7 separate regions of the Homo sapiens genome follow, and regions 2, 3, 4, 5, 6 and 7 are each linked to region 1. Evidence: promoter capture Hi-C in human tissues and cell types (Jung and others, 2019). All regions are on one chromosome and are shown on one strand. Each heading gives the region's core, a stretch centred on a gene start or on the middle of the fragment in contact. The rest is flanking DNA. Distances are from core to core; before and after follow the strand shown.

Region 1 (3,044 bases), core at 300-2,799:
AAAAAAAAAAAAAAAAAAAAGGGGGGGGGGACAGGGAGAAGAACTAAAGCTCAGGCTACTATGATAATTAGGGATGAAAAAGCTACATTCACTTAGGATTATCAAAAGCCAGGAAAGATATCTATAGAATTACAAATTAATCGGGCCTGGCGCAGTGGCTCACGCCTGTAATCCCAGCACTTTGGGAGGCCCGAGACGGGCGGATCACCTGTGGTCAGGAGTTCGAGACCAGCCTGGCCAACATGGCGAAAAACCCCGTCTCTATTAAAAATACACAAATTAGCCGGGCGTGGTGGCGGGCGCCTGTAATCCCAGCTACTCGGTAGGCTGAGGCAGGAGAATCACTTGAATCCGGGAGGCGGAGCTTGCAGTGAGCCGAGATCATGTCATTGCACTCCAGCCCGGGCAAGAGCGAAACTCCCGTCTTAAAAAAAAAATAGAAAAGAAAAGAAAAGAAGAATTACAAATTAATCACCAAGAACAGAAATAGTGTAAAAACAAAGATGTAATTCAACTGTTTAGAGTGCAGAGATAATTGGAACTAAAAGAGCAAGAAAAGCGGGAAACATATGTACCTATAAACCTAATCACAAACCTGTCACAAAAACTACGAGTAAACGAGTCGAAGTTGAAAATGAGTTTTTGTGAATCAGAGTCTGATTTGACTTGAATTTACTAAGAAAGAATAAGAAAGGTGTAGAACATTCCAGGACATCTCTATCCCACCGCAAAACAAAAAAGAGCCATCAACCCACCACAAACGTGCAGCGTGAGACTGGAAGATACACTAGTCACCCAGTCACTGAAAACAACCTTTGAAACATCTTTATTTTTCTTTCCAAATAAAAAAGAGCCTAGGTCAGTAAACTAAGTATGAGAATAATTTTCAAAATTCCAGTCCTAACCACACCGGATGATTCTGGCTAACGTATGCCTCAGTTTCCCCCGTGCTAAAATGCAAACACACCGGTGTTCCGAGTCTCGGGCCTGGATCCGAGCCCGGGTTCTGCACCTGGATCTGAATCTTAAAGGGAAAACCGCAAGTTAAACCTGAGGAGGAGTCTGCAGCTGTCCCGGTGCCAGAGCCAGCCAGGCTCTTTTTAGAAAGCCCCCCGCCTCAGGCGCGGTTTTCGTAAAACCGCTCCCGGCTGCCAGCGCGGTGGATTCCGGCTGGCGCCCCGAACACCTGAGGTGGCCTCGGCCGTCTAGGGGCGGCCGCACCGGAGGACGCAGCCGACCTCCCCGCCCCGCCGCGTCCCCGGCCCCCATTCCAACGGCGACGCGAGCAAGGTCGGCCCGGCGGCTCTCCGGCCCGAGGCGGTGCTTCTCTCGTGGGCGCCTTCGGCCCATACGACCCTCGGTCGGACAGTCCGACCACAGCCGCCCCGCAGCCCCCGCCTGAGGGGAACTTGTAGGCGCCGGTGGGTCTCCGCTGACTCCCGCCCCGCACTCACCTGCCCCACGGGCCACCTCAGCGCCAATCCGGGTCGGGTTAGCAGCTTCCCCACTCGCACCCAGTCAGCGCTCAGCGGCGCCTAAGCGCACGCGTGGCGGGGCGTGGCATGGGCGGCCGCGGGTCATGCTGGGGGCTGTAGTCGTTCCCGCCCACTAGGCGGGGCGCGTCCAGGGGCTTTGCGCCCCCATCCCAAGGCCAGCATGCATAGCGATGATTTCTTCGTCTGCACCGCAGCCTGAGAAGCTTGGGACAGTATGGTGTGGACCAGCAGTCAGGGTGGTGGGAGATAGACGCTGCAAATAACTTGCTAATTTTTTTTTTTTTTTTTTTTTGAGATGGAGTCTCGCTCTGTCACCCAGGCTGAAGTGCAGTGGCGTGATCTCGGCTCACTGCAACCTCCACCTCCCAGGTTCAATCAGTTCTCTGCCTCAGCCTCCCGAGTAGCTGGGATTACAGGCGCCCGCCACCACGCCCAGCTAATTTTTTTGTATTTTTAGTACAGTATTTTTAGTAGAGACGGGGTTTCACCATGTTGGCCAGGCTGGTCTCGAACTCCTGACCTCAGATGATCTGCCCGCTTCAGCCTCCCAAAGTGCTGGGATTACAGGCGTGAGCCACCGCGCCAGGCCGGAAAACGAAATTTTCTGAGTACCTTCTGTGTCAGATTCTATGCTGTGCAATTCCCATCTCACCAACCCTCACATCCACCTAGGCTTCATATCACCTTTCTAGGGACTCCTAACCCTCGTGCTTCCACTAAAGCTGTGTTTACAAACATCAGGCTCTCCTGGTTCTTAAATGAAACTGAGCATCAGCCAGGGAAAGAGGGCATTAAGTGTCCAGGTGTCTGACTTCAGCTGAGCAGACATTTCATCAGTTGCCCCAAGTTCTGCCCAGAACCTGACATCTGGGTAGTTCTGATGCTGGAGTCCGTGTGAATTTAAACCAATCTTAAAGAAAATACAACAGCCTGGGTTAACAGAGTGAGACCCTGTCTCTACAAAAAACAACAAAAAATGAACCACGTGTGGTTGTGTGTGCCATAGTCCCAGCTACTCAAGAGGCTGAGGTGAGAGGATCGCTTGAGCCCAGGAAATCAAGGCTGCAGTGAACTGTGGTCATGCCACTGCACTCCAGCTTGGGCGACAGAGCAAGATCTTGTCTATATATATATATAAAAGATAGATATATGAATGTATATTATATATAATATATATGAATGTATATTATATATAATATATATGAATGTATATTTTATATATATACATAAATGTACATTTAATATATATATGTTTTCCAGTGAACACGCAGACCACCCATCAAATTAAAATGTTACATGGGAAAATCAGATTACAAAGTTGCATACAAGTATGTAAATACAAAAATAAAGGAGAATGGAAAAGGAAAGAAGACAAGAGATGCACCAACAAATCCACCCATTCAAATAGTCCAGGAAGAAACCAGGTCAAATCGCCAATCACTGGAGATCATTAGTCTAACAGAATTGTTAGGACAGGAACAAGACTGTTATTTCCTTATTTTCTATGAGGAAATGTATTAACTAAAATCCATGGTATCCTATATCCCC
Region 2 (3,044 bases), core at 359-2,858, 430 kb before region 1:
AAAGGACTCCTTTTGCTAGTCCTTTGAAGCCCGAATTGGGATTGAAAGTGAGAGGAACAGGGCCTGGGCTCAGAAGGGGGATATAAGGAAAGCAGAACCCAGTGTGCCTGTGTCAGTGTCGTCTGGAGAAAAAGCTCTTGATGATATCTAATAGCTGTTATTCACATCAAAACTCTCTAAGGCCCTCCACCTATTTTCTCGTTTATGGGAAATGAAACATTCAGAGAAAGGACTTGCCCAGTCACCTCAGATGGCTCAGCTGGAAACTAGAAGTGAGATCCGACATAGTGGAAATGTGTAGCATACGGTGAGCCACTTTCCAACTTAGCCATTAAAAAAAAAAAAAAAACAAAAACTAGCAAATGCTGGTGAGGATACTGAGAAAAGGGAACTCTTGCACACTGTTGATGGGAATGTAAATTGGTACAGCCATTATGGAAACATTATGGAGGTTCCTCAAAAAATTAAAAATAGAACTACCATATGATCCAGCAATCCCATTACTGGGTATATATCCAAAGGAAATGAAATCAGCGTGTCAAAGAGACCTCTGCATATCTGTGTTAATTGCAGTGCTATTCACAGTAGAAAAAATGTGGAATCAATGCTTATCTACAGATGAATGGATAAGAAAAATGTAAATATACCAATGGGAATTTTATTCAGCTGTAAAACAGAATGAAATCCTGCCATTTGTGGTGACATGGATGAACCTGGACAATAAATATTATGTTAAGTGAAGTAAGCCAGGCACAGAACAAACATCACATGATCTTACTCATAAGTAGAATCTAAAAAAATTGATTTTATAGAAGTAGAGAGTAGAATAGTGGTTACCAGGGGCTAGAGATGGTAGGAAGGAGAGGGGGACCAGGAGAGGTTAGTTAAAGGGTACAAAGTTTCATTTAAGTCAGGTACTGTGGTGGCACAGGGCTGCAGTTCCAGCTACTCGGGAATCTGAGGCAGGAGGATCGCCTGAACCCAGGAGTTCAAGGCCAACTTGGGCAACACAGGGAGACCCCATCTCTTTAAAAGAAGAAAAAGTTAGACATGAATAAGTTCTGGTGTTCTATTACAAACTATGGTGACGATAGCAAATAACAATGTCGTGCGTATTTCAGGATAGCTAGAAGAGAAGATTTCCGATATTATCACCACAAAGAAATGATGTTTAAAGTAATGGGTGTGGTAATTACCCCAGTTTGATCATTATACAGTGTGTACATGCATTGAAACACTACACTGCACCCTATAAACATGTACAATTATTACATGGCACTTATAAATAAATAAATTTTGAAATGTCTCACTGTGGTATTCTTTTAATTCTCATCTACCAATTAGACCCCTTTTTGTTTTTCTATATAGTCCTTTTATATAAAAATCTGTTCTCATTATTAATCATTGGAGTAGGGAGGAGGCAGTGGTGGGTTTTCAGCTAACCCTCTTGATCCAGTCTTTCCAGTGCTACTAAATTTATAAAACTGTTACTTGGTGTTACTCATTTGAATTTTCTTTTTTTTTGAGAAGGAGTTTCCCTCTTGTTGTCCAGGCTGGAGTGCAGTGGCACGATCTTGGCTCACTGCAACCTCCGCCTCCCGGGTTCAAGTGATTCTCTTGCCTCAGCCTCCCAAGTAGCTGGGATTACAGGTGCCCACCACCACGCCTGGCTAAGTTTTGTATTTTTAGTAGAGGGGGAGTTTCACCATGTTGGCCAGGCTGGTCTCGAACTCCTGACCTCAGGTGACCCATCTGCCTCGGCTTCCCAAAGTGCTGGGATTACAGGCTTGAGCCAACGTGCCTGGCCTGATTTGAATTTTCATATGCCAGTTCTTGAGGTAGTAATAGACCAATGAGCTGTTTGGGCTGACTGTTCTCTTTATCTTGGTGTTTCACTTCAAGATATCCAGATAGGTAGGCAAGGACTTCTATGTTTAGGAACCTTCACGTGTCTATTTAAAGCTGGCAGAAAAGAGGGATGAAGGTGGCCCAGTGTTTGAAGAGGTAGCTTCCAGGCTAGACTTTTTCTGTCTGGAGATGCCCTGTCTATGCAGTACCCTTCAAAGAAATGCAGTACCGGCCAGGCACGGTGGCTCACGCCTGTAATCCCAGCATTTTGGGAGGCCGAGGCGGGTGGATCACCTGAGGTCAGGAGTTCGAGACCAGCCTGGCCAACATGATGAAACCCCGTCTCCACTAAAAATACAAAAAATTAGCTGGGCATGGAGGCGGGCGCCCTTAATCCCAGCTACTCGGGAGGCTGAGACAGGAGAATCGCTTGAATCCAAGAGGTGGAGGTTGCAGTGAGCCGAAATCCCGCCATTGCCCTCCAGTCTGGGCAACAAGAGCAAGACTCCGTCTTAAAAAAAGAAAAGAAAAGAAATGCAGTACCATGCGATAGAAAATGAGTGCCAGAGCCTTAATAAACTTAATAAGCTTTCTCTAACTTTCCAGCTCCCATTTTTCTTGGAAATTGCCTCCTGAAGATGAGCAAGGATGCTGGATGCATGGATTTGTAGGATTTGTAAAGCTTTGTGGGTTCAGTGTTTTGTGAGACATTGAATATCATTTAGTCGTTGAGTGTCATTTCTTGAAACATTGAGTATCATTTAATCATTTATCATGACTAGAAAAGAACAGTTATGTTGGGGTCATCAAAAAAGCATAAATAAGTGAAAGTACAGTGAATTGAATAAATGTTTAATTGAGAATCTAGGATGTGCACAGATATAGAAAGAATGCTCTCACAAATTAGCAGAAGAGTTGGATTTCACTGTAGTATATGTGCTGAAAGAGCCATAAATAAGTGCTAATGGCACCCTAGAGGACTGAACAACCAATTGTAAGCTGATAGGCGGGGAGAGGTAACAATATGTGTTTTGAAGAATACAAATATTAGAGTATTCTCCCTTGTCATGGAGGCTGACCTATTTAAATTGATAATAGGCCTACCAAATTTTCTTATTTAAGTTGACCTAGCTCCTAGTTATTTATCATTTACATATATATATATATATATATATATATATATATATATATATGTA
Region 3 (3,044 bases), core at 297-2,796, 430 kb after region 1:
GGTTTGGGAGCCAAATAAATACGGTATTTTTCAGACGTATGGACACACTTTACACAACTGGAGAGTCCTTTTAAATCCCTTATATCCTTATTTAATCAAATTGCTGTTCTGCAGGTCCCTGTCTGTCACTGTGGATTATGGAGACTTCATTGGTCTCAAGGATGTTTTTCTCTTTTTTAATTAGCTCCCTTTTTTCCTGCTTAAGGTTTTTTGGGTTTTGGAGGGAGGGGTAGTGAAGGGAGGGAAGTAGAGAAGGAAGAAGACAAGTCAGGAGACTGTCCCCATGCAGGGCCTATCCCCTCCCCTGCCTGTAACTTGGGTGATGCCCAAGGTAGAGCCAGCCACTTCCTTCTTCTTATGCGTATTTATTACCTTGCTCTTCTTTAATCAACGCCAGTCTGGCTTATATAATCTAACTTTTTTTTTTTAGTGCAAGACGCATCACATGAAGTCTCATTTGTCCTCAAACTTTTTGTAAGAAAAGTATCTTTCTCTTTAAGTATAATGTATATGTTCTGTTAAACTCAAGCACATTTGATTCTTTTTTCCCTAATTTGCCACTCTCTGCAAGGCGAGGCTTGCCTACCTCAGTGGGAGGTTTACTACGGGACTTAGGTGTCAGACCTGGCTTCAAACTCTAGGCTCTGCTGCTTACTTTGTAGCCGGAGAACCATAGTTTATCTTCTCTGTGCCTCAGTTTCTTCACCAGAAATGCAGATAATAATCCTTAGTCCCCAGTGTTGCAGGGAAGAGGACGTAGAATACTTGGTTCCAATGCTCAATGTCTCTTTCTTCAAAGCATTTTTGCATTCTGGTTATCTACAATCCTTTCTTGTAGAGACAAATCCAAAACTGTTTCTACAAAGTGTAAGGCCACCAAGCGTATACTACTTTTCAGCCTCTCAAGCACCTATTTTTCCTCACTTTCCCTGGGCAGGCGCTAGCTTCTCCCTATTGCCTGTGGAGTCCTAGCTGCAGTGTTATCAGAAAGTATGACACTAATCAAGACAATTCAGTGAGGAAAGAGAGAAGACAGCACTAACCAAGGGGAAGTGGGGAGAAATGGTGGATGGAGAAACAGAAAACTGACCAGGCTTCTACACTTTGCCATCTATGCAGAGCTCAGTCACTGTGATGCTACCTTTGAGGGGACACACACCACCCAGACTGTGCCAATGCCTAGAAACGTGAACCAGCTAAGAATAAGTTACCATGGATTGATATGGTCTATCAGGTGACAAGAACTTTATAATCGGTCACCCGTTGCAACATTTATTATTGTTACTATCATCCTTTGCATTTTAGAGGTGGGAAATGGAGGCAAGAGATTTCAGTACATGTCTGTTGGCACCTAAGGCTGTGTGTTCTCTTCACTTTGCTGCTCTGCCTCTCCTGCTACGAGCAACATAACCAAATCCCTCCTACTTGGTCAGGATGACTGCTCACTAGCTTAGGCCCTCTCAACCTTCCTGGGTGGCTGTCCTTTAGCCAAAACATTCAAGAGCAATTTTCACATACCCAGGAAATTCAAGCCCATTACTTCTTGGTCAAAGAGGTAAAGACTGCAATCGACCTGGCAGACCTCAGACCAAGCAATCATGCGCTTTAAGGCAATTGCAGAAATGGAAACAATCTCAGCTAATAGACTTACAAACTGTCGCTCTTTTCCTTTTCTTCTGCCGGTCCCCCCCACCACCCTGTCTCTCTCTCTTCCTCTTTCTCTCTCTCTCCTTCTGTCTGTGTCTCATTTGTCACAGTTCTCTTACCTTTCCCTTCATCAACTTTCCCCACAATATATTCTGCTTTTTCCAAGTTCTTTTCTTTCTCCTTGAAACATTAATAACTTACCATGAATCCAGTTAGAGAAAGTGTATCTCGCATACTTCCACTTTTAATTCTCTGACACTTTTCTTATTAAAATGACACCATGAAAACATCAATCCAAAACAACAAAAATAAGGCAAAAAGAGACCACCAACCTCGCTGGAAATGCTACTTCGAGCCTCACTCTGCTGCTAGACTGATGTATCACTTGATGTTTCCTCATTTTATTCTTATTGTTTCCTAAAGCAATAACAATTGTCTACAGAAACACCTCGGATCCTGCTGGCAAAACCCAAACATAAGTGAAGCATTAAAAATACCGCCCCCCACCCCTGAATCAGAAATCATCTAATGAACCCCATCAGAAGGGTGGAGGGCGGGGTGGGGGTGGCAGGGGTAGATGGGAATGACAGTCGAGAGAGACAGACAGACAGACAGACATTTTACAAATCTCCAGGCTTCATTTTCTTTTACTTCTCATTTTCTATTCACATCATGATTTCCCCTGGAATATATCACCAGGATTTTATGGTGGCCTCATGTTCTCTTTTTTTCCCTCTTCCCTTCTGTTCACTTAATGTTTGTTTTTACTGATTTGGGCTCTGAAAGCATGGCTTATTTATCATGGATTTGAAAGCCTCCATCTTCTTGCTCTGTTTTCGCCAGGGCTGTGACATGGTTCACAAATGCTGCAAATACGCTCAGCGCCCCTCTCCTTTTCCTCACTGCCTGTGCCCTGGGCTACCTTAATTCTCATCTGGGCAAAACACAAAAGTGTCAGCAGAGGACGGCATGACCACAATTACTTTAATCTTGCTGTCACTTTTACTTACGCTCCCAAGCCCTCATTTGTTGTTGGAATGCTGGTCATTTTTTCAGCTCACTGATCTCAAAGCTTGCAAAAGTGATCATCTATCCATAGAGAAGCTCCCCTTGCTTCATTCGATAAGTCTATCCCAGAAAAGTGGGAGGGCCTGACATTTTTACAAGTAAAGGTACTAAAAAAATGCCAGTAAAAGGGATAATATGGCAAATTCCTTTCATCAAATGAATTATAATATTCTTATTTTTGGGAAATTTTGTTCTTTCTAATTTGAGTTTGGTTCAACACCTCTTGTATTTGTCTTGTTTAAAATAGTTCTCTTTCTTTTTACTTGCCAGTTTTGATTAAATAGTGCCCCTATCCTAGATTCTCAAAGTTGGAAGTGGCCCAGAAAGTC
Region 4 (3,044 bases), core at 171-2,670, 410 kb before region 1:
GGTAACCATGTGGATAACTCCTTTGCCTCCTTTTAGGTTTTTCCCAAATGGCCACTGTTAAATGATAAACTTTAGACAAATTATGTTTAACAGAGCTTTTTTTGTTTGTTTTTTGAGAAGGAGTCTCACTCTGTCACCCGGGCTGGAGTGCAGTGGCGCGATCTCCGCTCACTGCAACCTCCGCCTCCCAGGTTCAAGAGATTTTCCTGTCTCAGCCTCCCAAGTAGCTGGGACTACAGGCGCAAGCCATCATGCCCAGCTAATTTTTGTATTTTTAGTAGAGACGGGGTTTCACTCTGTTGGCCAGGCTGATCTCGAACTCCTGACCTAAGGTGATCCACCTGCGTCAGCCTCCTAAAGTGTTGGGATTACAGGCGTGAGCCACCATGCCTGGCCTAACAGAGTTTGATCAAGCAAAGAACAATTCGCAAATTGGGCAGCCCTCAGAACCAGAAGGTCAGAGTGACTCTGGAGCTGTCACATGGTAGAATATTTATGGACAGAAAAAGGAAAGTGACATATAGAAGTCAGAAGTGAGGTACAGAAACAGCCAGATTAGTTACCACTTGTTTACCTTATTTGAACAGTTGGCTGCCTGTGATTGGCTGAAACTCTATGATTGGCACAAGATCCAGGTAGGTTATAGTTCACTATATACTGAGAAACCTTCAAGGTTATTTTTTTTCCTTTTCTTTTTTTTTTTTTTTTTTTTTGTTGTTGTTGAGATAGGGTCTTGCTCTGTCATCCGGGCACTGGAGTACAGTGGTGCAGTCATAGTTCACTGCAGCCTCCAACTCCTGGGCTCAAGAGATCCCCCTGCCTCGGCCTCCCCAGTAGCTAGGACTACAGGGATGCCACCACACCCAGCTAATTTTTTTTTATTTTTTGTACAGATGGGGGTCTTTCTGTGTTGCCCAGGCTGGTTTCAAACCCCTGGCCTCAAGAGATTCTTCTGCCTCGACCTTCCAAAGTGCTAGGATTACAGGTATTAGCCACTGCTCCCAGCTGAATATTTATTTTAAAAAATAAAAAGAATATTTATTTTTATTGATATTAAATCTACCTTCTTAAAGCAACTAGAAACAAAGATGAAACTTAGTACATATGTTTTCTCCCCCTGCAAACGTATGAGTTAGCAATTCCAAAGTGACTTTTTGTATACTTTAGGATAAGTAAATATATTGTGATCCTGGCCTAGTTCGCTTGGACAATAAAGAAAAAGTATATACCCTTTCCCACAAGCCATTTATTCATCATGGTTTGTTCATCAAATATATATTGGGTGTCTAGTATGTGCTAAATCCAGTTCTAGATGCTAAGGATATGGCAGTAAATAAAAAATGAAAATCTCTGTCCTCATGAAGCTTACAATCTAATATTGTAAGATAGACAATAAACAAGGAAAATACATAGTATGTTAGAGGATAAGGTTACAGACAAAATTTAAGCAGAGAAGGGATAGAGAGTACTGAGGGTTAGAAAGAGGTACCATTGGCCGGGCGCGGTGGCTCATGCCTGTAATCCCAACACTTTGAGAGGCCGAGGCAGGTGGATTACCGAGGTCAGGAGTTTGAGACCAACCTGGCCAACATGGCGAAACCCCCTGTCTACTAAAAATACAAAAATTAACTGGGTGTGGTAGCGGGCACCTATCATCCCAGCTACTTGGGAGGCTGAGGTAGGAGAATCACTTGAACCCAGGAGGCGGAGGTTGCAGTGAGCGGAGATCGAGCCACTGCACTCCAGCCTGGGAGATAGAGCGAGACTCCATCTCCAAAAAAGAAAAAAAGAGGTACCATTTTAGATAGTATGGTGTTAAGTCAAGTTAAAGCTGTCTCTACATATTTTAACTTCAGTGCTGGGAATGGTAAAAAATTAAAAATAAATTAGCCGGCATGTGCCTGTAATCCCAGCTACTTGGGAGGCTAAGGAGGGAGGATCACTTAAGCCCAGGAGTAGGAGGCTGCAGCAAGACCATGTCTCAAAAAAACAAAATAAAATAAAATAAATAATTGTAACAGCTAATGGAATAAAACAGGTGTGAAAGTGAATTCCTGTGTTTTGAAATTGTAAAGAATAAAAGGAATAATCACTTGGTGATTGGATTAGATTAGTGGTTCTCCACTGAGGCTGATTTTGACCCACAGGGTCAAATGTGGCATCTAGTGGGTAGAGGCCAGGGAGACTGCTAATCATCCTACACAAGAGCCCACATACACACACAACAAATAATTTTCCACCCCAAAATATTAGTACTGTCACAGTTGGGAGACTCTGGGTTAAAGAATTTTACAATCCTTTGTTAATTGTGAGATTCTCTGATTGTAGGTCTTCTCTTTTTCTGAAGGTTGAGAGTTCCTTGAAAATTACTTTTGTGAGTTTTAAACTTCTCTTCATAACAAGTTTTTATATCTTAATATGTACATATTTTTATAATAATTATAACAGCTTTCTTCCTGCTGTGAGTATTATAATCACTGTAGAAATGAGTTGTATCATCTCTAAGGAGAACTAGGAACAGCGTTGTTGCTCTTCAAATTCTTCTTGAAACTTAGAAATTTATTATTTATTGTATTTTCCCAGAAAAACAAGCCTATAAAGCTTCATATCTTGGGGAATAATGTGGGAACAGAACCTTAACAGATAAATGAAGAGACACTTATTTTTATGAAATTGGAATTTTTAGCAATAACTCTTACTGAATGCCAAAGGTATTATCATTGTTGTGATAGTTCAAAATGTATTTCCTGCCCTCTGGCCTTAAATCTGGCAAGACAGGTTTGTTCCTGTTGTGTGTAAAGTTTCATTCCTTCCTACGGAGTCAAGTGAGATTTGTTAGATTTGTGCCTTTGTTTTGCCATTTTCTTATATCCATGGTCATTGCACATATTTTCCAGAAGTGCATACCCAATTAGCCTACTTCGTTTGTGTTTTCTCTCCGTAACAAAGGAGACTCACTGCTGATAAAACTAATTGTTTTCAAGATTTCAGGAGTAAATAGCTGTGTTCTAATTGTTCCTTGATTTAGTGAATAATTTTAGTGT
Region 5 (3,044 bases), core at 190-2,689, 390 kb before region 1:
ACTGAAACTTCTATACAAGAAATTGAATGCCCACTAAATGCTAGTCACAATTAATTTACATACATCTTTTGTTTTTTTCTTTGAGACAGAGTCTCGCTCTGTCACACAGGCTGGAGTGCAGTGGTGCGATCTCGGCTCACTGCAAGCTCCGCCTCCCGGGTTCAAGCCATTCTCCTGCCTCAGCCTTCTGAGTAGCTGGGACTACAGGTGCCCACCACCACGCCCGGCTAATTTATTTCTATTTTTAGTAGAGATGGGGCTTCACCATGTTAGCCAGTCTCGAACTCCTGGTCTCGAACATCATGGTCTCGAACTCCTGACTTCATGATTCGCCCGCCTCGGCCTCCCAAAGTGCTGGGATTACAGGCTTGAGCCACCGCGCCCGGCCTATGTACATCTTGATATCCTTGTAACAACTCCAGCGTATGGGGTTTATTCCCATTAACAGGTGAAGTAGTTGAAGCTTAAAGGGTAATTTATCTATAGTCACACACCTCATGAATAGGGGTAGGGATTCCTAGTTGAGGCTCTTTTTACCCTGCCATACTACATTCTTCAGATGTCCTTAAAAGTAAGCCATCTAGGCCGGGTGCAGTGGCTCACGCCTGTAATCCCAGCACTTTGGAAGGCCAAGGTGGGTAGATCACCTGAGGTCAGGAGTTCAAGACCAGCCCAACCAACATGGTGAAACCCTGTCTCTACTAAAAATAGAAAAATTAGCGGTGTGGTGGCAGGCGCCTGTAATCCCAGCTACTTGGGAGGCTGAGGCGGGAGGATAGCTTGAACCAAGGAGGCAGAGGCTGCAGTGAGCCGAGATCATGCCACTGCACTCCAGCATGGGTGACAGCAAGACTCCATCCCCCGCAAAAAAAAAGTAACCTTCATTTATTTCTTTAATTAGAAATGTATTTATTTATTTATCTTCATTTATTCTTTAATTGGAGTCACCAAAATGATCTACCCTAAGGGCACTATTGATGTAATTGTGTCACGTGCACCTCATTCTTGTTTTGCTGTGGTTTCTATAGAACCCATTGGCAAATTGGATGGCCAATCCAGCAGGTGGTTCCCTGTGTGGGTGTCATATGGAGGACCTTCTTAAATTGCAAATTCCTATTCTAAGAATAAGGTTATATTCATTTAAGAAATCATTTTTGATTATCTGCCATATCCAAACACTATGCAGATTGCTGGGATTATACAGATGAATAATAGTCTCTGCCCTCATGTATGTCATTGTTCAGCGTGGGAGTCAGACAAAAACAACTTAAAATTGTACCGCTGATGAGTTCTGATGAGAAATGTGCTGTAAATGTTCAGGAGTTGCTTTGAGAGCATGAGGAAGTGGGACCTAACTCTGTATTGAACTGTGGGGCCAGGCGGTGACATTTGAACTAGAAATACACCAAGCAGTGGGTGGAGGACCTCGACAGGAAATAAATAGCATATGCAAAGTAGGAAGAGGATGATACTTTATTATTTGTGCATTGGTTTGAATTAGATCCAGAAGCTTTCCAACCTGGACCTCTGGGTTGAACAAATATTGAAGCGGAGGAGAAGAAACAGCATCAGGTCACAGAGGGCCTTCAACAAGGGAGGAGGGGTGATTAGGACCCCCATTCTACTTAGCAGTTATGTCTACATGTAGACTTGGGAAAGAAGATAAGGTGCTTGTACTCTAAGAATTTAAAATGTAGGCCGGGTGTCATGGCTCATGCCTGTAACCCTAGCACGTTGGGATGCCAAGGCTGGTGGATCACGTGAGCCCAGGAGTTTGAGACCAGCCTGGCCAACATGGCAAAACTCTGCCTCTACAAAAAATACAAAAATTAGCCAGCCATGGTAGTGCACGCCTATAGTCCCAGCTACTTGCGAGGCTGAGGTGGGAGGAACATCTGAACCCAGGAGGCAGAGGTTGCAATGAGCCATGGTCGCACCACCGCACTCCAGCCTGGGCGACAGAACGAGACCCTGTCTCAAAAAAAAAGAAAACAAAAACAAAAAAACCGGCATGGTGGCTCACGCCTGTAATCCCAGCAATTTTGGAGGCCAAGGCTGGGGGATCACTTTAGGCCAGGAGTTTGAGACCAGCCTGGCCAACATGGAGAAACCCCATTTCTACTAAAAATACAAAAACTAGGCAGATTTGGTGGCAGGCACCTGTAATCCCAGCTACTCGGAAGGCTGAGGCAGGAGAATCACTGGAACCCAGGAGGCAGAGGCTGCAGTGAGATCATGCCACTGCACTCCAGCCTGGGTGACAGAGTGAGACTGTCTCAAAAAAAAACAAATTAAATCTAATTTTATTTCATTTATTTTTGTAGAGATAGGGTCTTACTATGTTGCCCAGGCTGGTCTCAAACTCCTGGACTGAAGCAATCCTCCCACTTTGGCCTCCCAAAGTGCTGGGAGTACAGACATGAGCCACCATGCCTGGCTAATTTTAAATGTACTTTAAAAATTAGACATAGGGCTAGGCGACAGAGTGAGACCCTGCCTCAAAAAAAAAAAAAAAATAATAATAATAATGAGACATAGCATTAATTGTTTCATTTTACCTTTATGAAGACTGACCAGGAAGAACAGTTTAGGCTTACTGTGAATTCTTGTTATTATCAAGGTCTGGACTTGGATTTATCTTGATTAATACAGAGATGTTTACTTGGAAACTAGTACAGAGACTAGATGAGGTTTTTTTTTCCCCTCCTAATTTTCATGTGTGTGTGTGTGGTAAAATACACATGGCATACCATCTTAATCTTTTTTTTTTTTTTTTTTGAGCCAGAGTTTCACTCTTGTTGCCCAGGCTGGAGTACAATGGCACGATCTCGGCTCACCGCAACCTCTGCCTCCTAGGTTCAAGCGATTCTCCTACCTCAGCCTCCCCAGTAGCTGGGATTACAAGCATGCGCCACCACACCCGGCTAATTTTGTATTTTTAGTGGAGACGAGGTTTCTCCATGTTGGTCAGGCTGGTCTTGAACTCCCATCCTCAGGTGACCCGCCCACCTCGGCCTCCCAAAGTGATGGGATTACGGGCGTGA
Region 6 (3,044 bases), core at 264-2,763, 340 kb before region 1:
GTGAGCCGAGATCGCGCCATTGACTCCAGTCTGCGCGACAAGAGCAAGACTCCATCTCAAAAAAAAAGAAAAAGAAAAAGAAAATGCCGATCGGAATAGAGCTGCAGGAGGGATGACAGATGGGTAGGTAGAGTTAAATTCAGTTCTTTTCACCTGTTCTCTGTATCGGGCTCTGTGGTAGGCACACAATTTACATTCCCCTTCATGTAATGCTTTTCACGGCTTAGTAAGGTGGAAATTGTTATCCCATTTTTATAAGAATGAAATCTAAGGCTCCACAAGCTTAAGTGTTTTGCCTAAGATCTCAGTGCAGGAATATGAACCCAGGTCCACCTCATCTCAAGGTGGTGTCCCTTCACCACTACCTTCCACAGTGAGGTTGTTCGGTCAAGCAAACCAGGCAGGAGAGGGATCGTCTCTTCTCTTGAGATGATGGCGGCCAATCATTAAATCTCCCCCTAAGCAAGGAAGTCTTTAGGGACTTGACCTCCAGCCTCACCTGAAGGTTCCCTTGTCCTCAGAAGTCCCATCTCTCTCCTTCAATCAGGTAGTGGGATATAGCAGGGAAAGCATAGTGCGGAGCCAGATAGACCCAGGTTCAAATCCATGCGCCCTGTGGACTCCCTGATTTCGTCCTTGCTATAGAATTGAGGGAAAACAGCGACTCTGTTGTTTTGTGTTTTGTTCTTGTAAAGACAGGGTCTCACTATGTTGCCGAGGCTAGTCTTGAACTCCTGGGCTCAAGAGATCCTCCCACCTCAGCCTCCCAAAGAGCTGGGATTACAGGCATGAGCCACCATGCCCAGCCCTAGTTTTGTTTGAAGAATGCTGAGGACTGCCAGGGGTGGTGGCTCACGCCTATAATCCCAGCACTTTGGGAGACTGAGGTGGGTGGAACTCCTTGAGCCCAGGAGTTCGAGGACAGCCTGGGCAACATGGCAAGACCACATCTCTACAAAAAAATAAACAAAATTAGCCAGACATGGTGGCACATGCCTGTGGTCCTGGCTACTCAGGAGGCCGAGGTGGGAGGATCACTTGAGCCGGGGAGGTAGTAAGCCATGATGACGAACTGTACTCCAATCCAGCCTGGGCAACAGAGCAAGACCCTGTCTCAAAAAAAAAAAAAAAAAGAAAAAGAAAAAAAGAGAGAATGCCAAACGCCGAGGGCCGTGGGGAGGACTAAGTGAACCGAGGAGAAGGATCCTTGACTTTTGTATTAAACTCAACCAGCCCAGGCCAGGCGCAGTGGCTCATACCTGTAATTCTCACACTTTGGGAGGCCGGGGTGTAAGGATCACTTGAGGTCAGGAGTTCGAGACCAGCCTGGCTAATGTGATGAAATCCCATCTCTACTAAAAGTACAAAAAAATTACCCGAGTATGGCGGCCAACTCCTGTAACTGTAGCTACTCGGGAGGCTGAGGCAAGAGAATCACTTGAACCTGGGAGGCAGAGATTGCAGTGAGCAGAGATCGTGCCACTGCACTCCAGCCTGGGTGATAGAGCAAGACTTTGTCTCAAAAAAAAAAAAAAAAACCTCAAACAGCCCGTCTCTACCCAGCAGCTTAGGAGACTTTTCTCCTTCTGAGCTCTCTTTTCTGGGTTCTCCCACAAAAAGCTTCCTTCTGTCGCCCCCAGGGTATATAAAGATATTTACTTGTACCCTTGAATTTGATTTCTCTACATCCCATCCTAGAGGCAACTGTGCCTGTAGCCATCCCTGGGGGAATCTTGCCCCACGCACACATTTACTCTGCACCTTCCGGACCCCATACCCCTTTTCTATGTGCCTGTTGCCTCCGGCCAGGCCTCGGAAATCTTGCCCTGTTCTCCCCAGGCTTCGTAGCATGGCCTGACTGACAGTGGCATGTGTAGCAGGATCGCAGATTAATATACAAGGAAAGGCGCACGGAGAGACGATGTTTCTCTCTTTCCTGCAGCTGATCTGCTGAGCCATGAGCCCCTCCGGGGAAGTGGAAAGAAACTGTCATCACTGCACTGCAGCTTATCTCGGTTTAGATAGCCTCTCGATGACTCATGTCTCTGTAAATACTTGGTTTTTTTGTTCTGTTTTGTTTGAGATGGAGTCTCGCTCTGTCACCCAGGCTACAGTGCAGTAGTACGATCATAGCTCACTGTGACCTCAGTATCCTGGGTTCAAGTGATCCTCCTGCCTCAGCCTCCCAAGTAGCTGGGACCACAGCCACACGCCACACGCCACCACATTCAGCTAATTTTTTTTTCACATTCAGCTAATTAAAAAAAATTTTTTTTGGAGGCTGGGTGTGGTGGCTCATGCCTGTAATCCCAGCACTTTGGGAGGCCGAGGTGGGTGGATCACCTGAGGTCAGCAGTTCAAGACTAGCCTGGCTAATCTGGTGAAACCCCATCTCTACTAAAAATAAAAAATTAGCCGGGCGTGGTGGCGCATGCCTGTAATCCTAGCTACCCAGGAGGCTGAGGCAGGAGAATTGCTTGAACCCAGAAGGCGAAGGTTACAGTGAGCCAAGATTGCCCCATTACACTCCAGCCTGGGCAATAAGAGCAAAACTCTGTCTAAAAAAAAAAAAAAAAATTTGTTTGTAGGGGTTGGCTCTCACTATGTTGTCCAGGCTGGTCTTGAACTCCTGAGCTCAAGCGATCCTTCTGCCTCAGCCTCCTAAAGTGCTGGCATTACAGGCGTGAGCCACTGTGCCCAGCCCCCATGTGGGCCTTTTGGAGTGCCCTGCTGACACTCCCTGCCCGGTGAGTCCTCATGGCTGAGTTCCTGTTGTGAGGTCTGCACATATACTGGTCTCTTTTTCCTGCCCTGACACTCTGGGAATCTCAAGGCCCTTCAGCTCTTGCAAGTCCCCTGGTCAGATCCTGGAGGGATTTCAGGATGCCCTGTGGCCGTGGGGAGCCAAGTGTGGGGCCCAGGCTCACCTGTGCAGTCATTTCCCAGCTCATTGTTACTTCCTGTCCTCTTGATTGCTGGACACAGTGTCCAGACCACTATGGGATACTTCCTAGGGCTCCAAATAAAACAGAGGAGGCTGGGCG
Region 7 (3,044 bases), core at 289-2,788, 300 kb after region 1:
ATTAACTGGCCTATAGAGAAAGAACAGATTTAATCTTACATCCTGTAGCAGAAAAAAAAAGGAAAGTGGGTTCCATTTTCAGAGAGTAACAAATGCTAGCAAACATTAGAGCTAAGAAAGTAAATAGTCTACAGTCCCTTACCCACAATTCCAAAATCCAAAAACTTCTGAAAACCAAAACTTTTCTGGAATTCATTGGTGGTGAAACCTGATGGGAATTTAATTGGTGGCAAGGTCTGACCTGAACTGACATGAAACTATTTATAGTCTACCCACTTTAGACTTTAGTCATAGCTTTGGCTGCTGAAATACTAATGTATTTGACTCTGAAGTGCTGCCTCTGACCCTGCAGGGGCATTGTATAACATATGGTAAGTGCATCTTATTAGTTTTCAAAAAAAAAAAAATCTGAGCTATAAAATACATCTGGCCCTTAAGAGTTTCTGATAAGGAATTGTGAACCTAAAAATGAGTTTTTATTAAAATGATCCTGTCAACCTTCCTGAAATATACCATTTTTTTCTTAAAATACCTGTAAATTAATTTGAACTAATTCTTTTCCTCAAACTTAAAATATTCTACTTTGAATATCTATAAAGATATAACTGTATTATTAGTTACAATATTTTATTCCACTTCAACATTAAGTCTTATTTTAACTTCTTTCTGAAGGAAACACTGAAATCAGCCTTTAGCAGATGGTATCAGAATGGAGTGAAGACAAAGTTAAAAAAGCAGATCTCTGTCAACGAGCTTCACCCTTTCTTTTTATGTTTAAAGAAAAACAGCATGAGATTTTCTGATGTATCAAAGAACATTAATTTCAAAAGTTAATAAATCCCAATTTAAGTCATTAAAAGAATCAAATCAAATAAAAAGTCACAAAATCCAAGAAGTTACTAAATCACAAAATAAAAGTCAAGTAATAGAACAGCTACAAGAAATGAAAATTATATACTTTAGCCCAGTTACTTATCGATTTTATTATACGAATAAATGACAAAGGCACACGGAACACGCAAAACTCAAATGTCTCTCTTAGAGAAAAAAACTATAAAGCCAGATTAAAGCAAGAACTAAGACATAAAACTAACAACCTATAATTAATTACAATGAAGGGTATTTTAGAAGATACGAAAAAATAGGCACAGAATGAACACTTTAATAAACATAAATACAACACTTGTACCTACATAAAACATAATTAGTTAAAATTTTTTCTTTTAATATACACCAATCCTCCCAACTCCCCACCTCCTACAACACAACTAACATGCCAGAAACACTCCAGCCAAATAGGAACCTCATTTCATAACTGATAGCCGTGAAAATCTCTTTTAATAAATGTGTGGTATAGAAAAGAACCCCTAATTATTTCTGTCTAAAAGAAGCTCTCGGCCGGGCGCAGTGCCTCAGGCCTGTAATCCCAGCACTTTTGGGAGGCCGAGGTGGGTGGATCACCTGAGGTTGGGAGTTCAAGACCAGCCTGACCAACATGGAGAAACCCCATCTCTACTAAAAATACAAAATTAGCCAGACATGGTGGCACATGCCTGTAATCCCAGATACTCTGGAGGCTGAGGCAGGAGAATCGCCTGAACCTAGGAGGCGGAGGTTGCGGTGAGCCGAGATCACGCCATTGCACTCCAGCTGGGGCAATGAGAGCGAAACTCCATCTCAAAAAAAAAAAAATTAAAAAAAAAAAGCTCTTACAAAGTTATACTCAAAGAAACTAAAGACTGAAAAATAACACAAAATATTCCTTAAAACAACTTTTAGGCCAGGTGCAGTAGTTCACACCTGTAATCCCAGCACTTTGGGAGGGTGAGGTAGGAGGATCCCTTGAGCCCAGGAGTTTGAGATCAGCCTGGACAACATAGGGAGACCCCAGCTCTACAAAAAAAAAAAATTTTATATCAGTCAACCTGGTAGTGTGCACCTGTGATCCCAACTACTCAGGAGGCTGAGGTGCGAGGGCTGCTTGAGCCCACGAATTTGAGGCTGCATGCAGTGGGGCATGATTGTACCTGCACTACAGCCTGGGCGAGACAGCGAGATACTGTCTCAAAAACAAAAAACTTTCATAGCAAATTTGTGGCTAGGTCCTGGAAACAAAGGATAATGCTACCTTTACACTATTGTTTACTAAAGTGTGGTTTTTACTCTCCATGAAAAATATGTGGTCATAAAAATAGTATGTATGGAATTCTAAATTAATCAAAAATAAAAATTAAAAATTTCAATGCAAATTTCAAGGTAAAAAGTCCACCTCATATATATGGATTTAAAAGAAAAATCTGGCAAGGTGCAATGGTTCATTCCTGTAATCCCAGCATTTTAGGAGGCTGAGGCAGGGAGGACTACTTCAGGCCAGGAGTTTGAGACCAGCCTGGGCAACACGGCGAGACCTCATCTGTAGAAATAAAAAATAAAAGAAGATTTTCCTGTTGTAACCTTCCTTTTACTTAAACAAAACACAGAATTGAAAGAAAATGAAAAGAAAACAAGACAACGAAAAGTTACTAAGATACTAAACAAGAACATCCAGATAAAGAACAAACCAAGAGGCCAGGCGCGGTGGCTCACGCCTGTAATCCCAGCACTTCAGGAGGCCAAGGCAGGAGGATCACCTGAGGCTAGGAGTTCGAGACCAGCCTGGCCAACATGGTGAGACCTCGTCTCTATTAAAAACACAAAAATTGGCTGGGCATGGTGGCGCGTGCCTGTAGTCCCAGCTACTCAGGAGGCTGAGGCAGGACAATCACCTGAACCCAGGAGGCGGAGGTTGTAGTGACCCGAGATTGCGCCACTGCACTCCAGCCTGGGCAGCAGAGTAAGACTCCATCTCAAAAAACAAAACAAAACAAAAGAACAAACCACGTAAGTAAAAGAGTATCCACTCTATCTACTATAAGGTTCACTATTCACTATAAAGGAACTGTGAAACTATACAGTTAACTAAAAAGATGAAATTACAGAAAATAAAAGCTGAAAGCTAAAAATCTAAGAATTCAAACCATAAGAATACTTTTTTAAAGTCCTTA

The links. The method cuts DNA at HindIII sites, captures the fragments that hold promoters and counts their contacts. A contact is called where the count stands out against the background at its distance.
Region 2: a contact is called between a fragment that was not itself captured here and the fragment with the promoter of SGSM3 in region 1, in 1 of the 25 tissues and cell types used here (mesenchymal stem cells).
Region 3: a fragment that was not itself captured here is called in contact with the fragment with the promoter of SGSM3 in region 1 in 1 of the 25 tissues and cell types used here (dorsolateral prefrontal cortex).
Region 4: a contact is called between a fragment that was not itself captured here and the fragment with the promoter of SGSM3 in region 1, in 1 of the 25 tissues and cell types used here (dorsolateral prefrontal cortex).
Region 5: a fragment that was not itself captured here is called in contact with the fragment with the promoter of SGSM3 in region 1 in 2 of the 25 tissues and cell types used here (aorta and dorsolateral prefrontal cortex).
Region 6: a fragment that was not itself captured here is called in contact with the fragment with the promoter of SGSM3 in region 1 in 1 of the 25 tissues and cell types used here (dorsolateral prefrontal cortex).
Region 7: a fragment that was not itself captured here is called in contact with the fragment with the promoter of SGSM3 in region 1 in 1 of the 25 tissues and cell types used here (pancreas).

What each region holds. Positions count from the first base shown.
Region 1 is chr22:40,369,099-40,372,142 of GRCh38, reverse strand. It overlaps SGSM3 (small G protein signaling modulator 3), which reads right to left and starts at 1,549. Exons shown (of 22, transcript NM_015705.6): 1 at 1,455-1,549. It overlaps ADSL (adenylosuccinate lyase), which reads right to left. Exons shown (of 13, transcript NM_000026.4): 13 at 2,776-3,044. RefSeq lists silencers at 1,164-1,333, 1,394-1,503 and an enhancer at 1,654-1,863. The HindIII fragment of the contact is 4,461 bases long and covers 1-3,044 here.
Region 2 is chr22:40,801,126-40,804,169 of GRCh38, reverse strand. The region is part of intron 1 of SLC25A17 (solute carrier family 25 member 17); the gene reads left to right. Among named protein-coding and RNA genes, the nearest start is that of MIR4766, 11 kb to the left of the region's middle. The HindIII fragment of the contact is 6,915 bases long and covers 1-3,044 here.
Region 3 is chr22:39,935,366-39,938,409 of GRCh38, reverse strand. The region is part of intron 1 of GRAP2 (GRB2 related adaptor protein 2); the gene reads right to left. Among named protein-coding and RNA genes, the nearest start is that of TMA7B, 24 kb to the left of the region's middle. The HindIII fragment of the contact is 9,705 bases long and covers 1-3,044 here.
Region 4 is chr22:40,782,454-40,785,497 of GRCh38, reverse strand. The region is part of intron 4 of SLC25A17 (solute carrier family 25 member 17); the gene reads left to right. Among named protein-coding and RNA genes, the nearest start is that of MIR4766, 30 kb to the left of the region's middle. RefSeq lists an enhancer at 2,934-3,044. The HindIII fragment of the contact is 3,487 bases long and covers 1-3,044 here.
Region 5 is chr22:40,763,234-40,766,277 of GRCh38, reverse strand. No RefSeq gene overlaps it. Among named protein-coding and RNA genes, the nearest start is that of MIR4766, 49 kb to the left of the region's middle. RefSeq lists a silencer at 1,181-1,280. The HindIII fragment of the contact is 4,442 bases long and covers 1-3,044 here.
Region 6 is chr22:40,710,699-40,713,742 of GRCh38, reverse strand. No RefSeq gene overlaps it. Among named protein-coding and RNA genes, the nearest start is that of MCHR1, 33 kb to the right of the region's middle. RefSeq lists enhancers at 1-340, 1,304-1,820, 1,844-2,138 and a silencer at 1,911-2,030. The HindIII fragment of the contact is 3,262 bases long and covers 1-3,044 here.
Region 7 is chr22:40,068,140-40,071,183 of GRCh38, reverse strand. It overlaps a transcript of TNRC6B not described here. Among named protein-coding and RNA genes, the nearest start is that of TNRC6B-DT, 25 kb to the right of the region's middle. The HindIII fragment of the contact is 5,633 bases long and covers 1-3,044 here.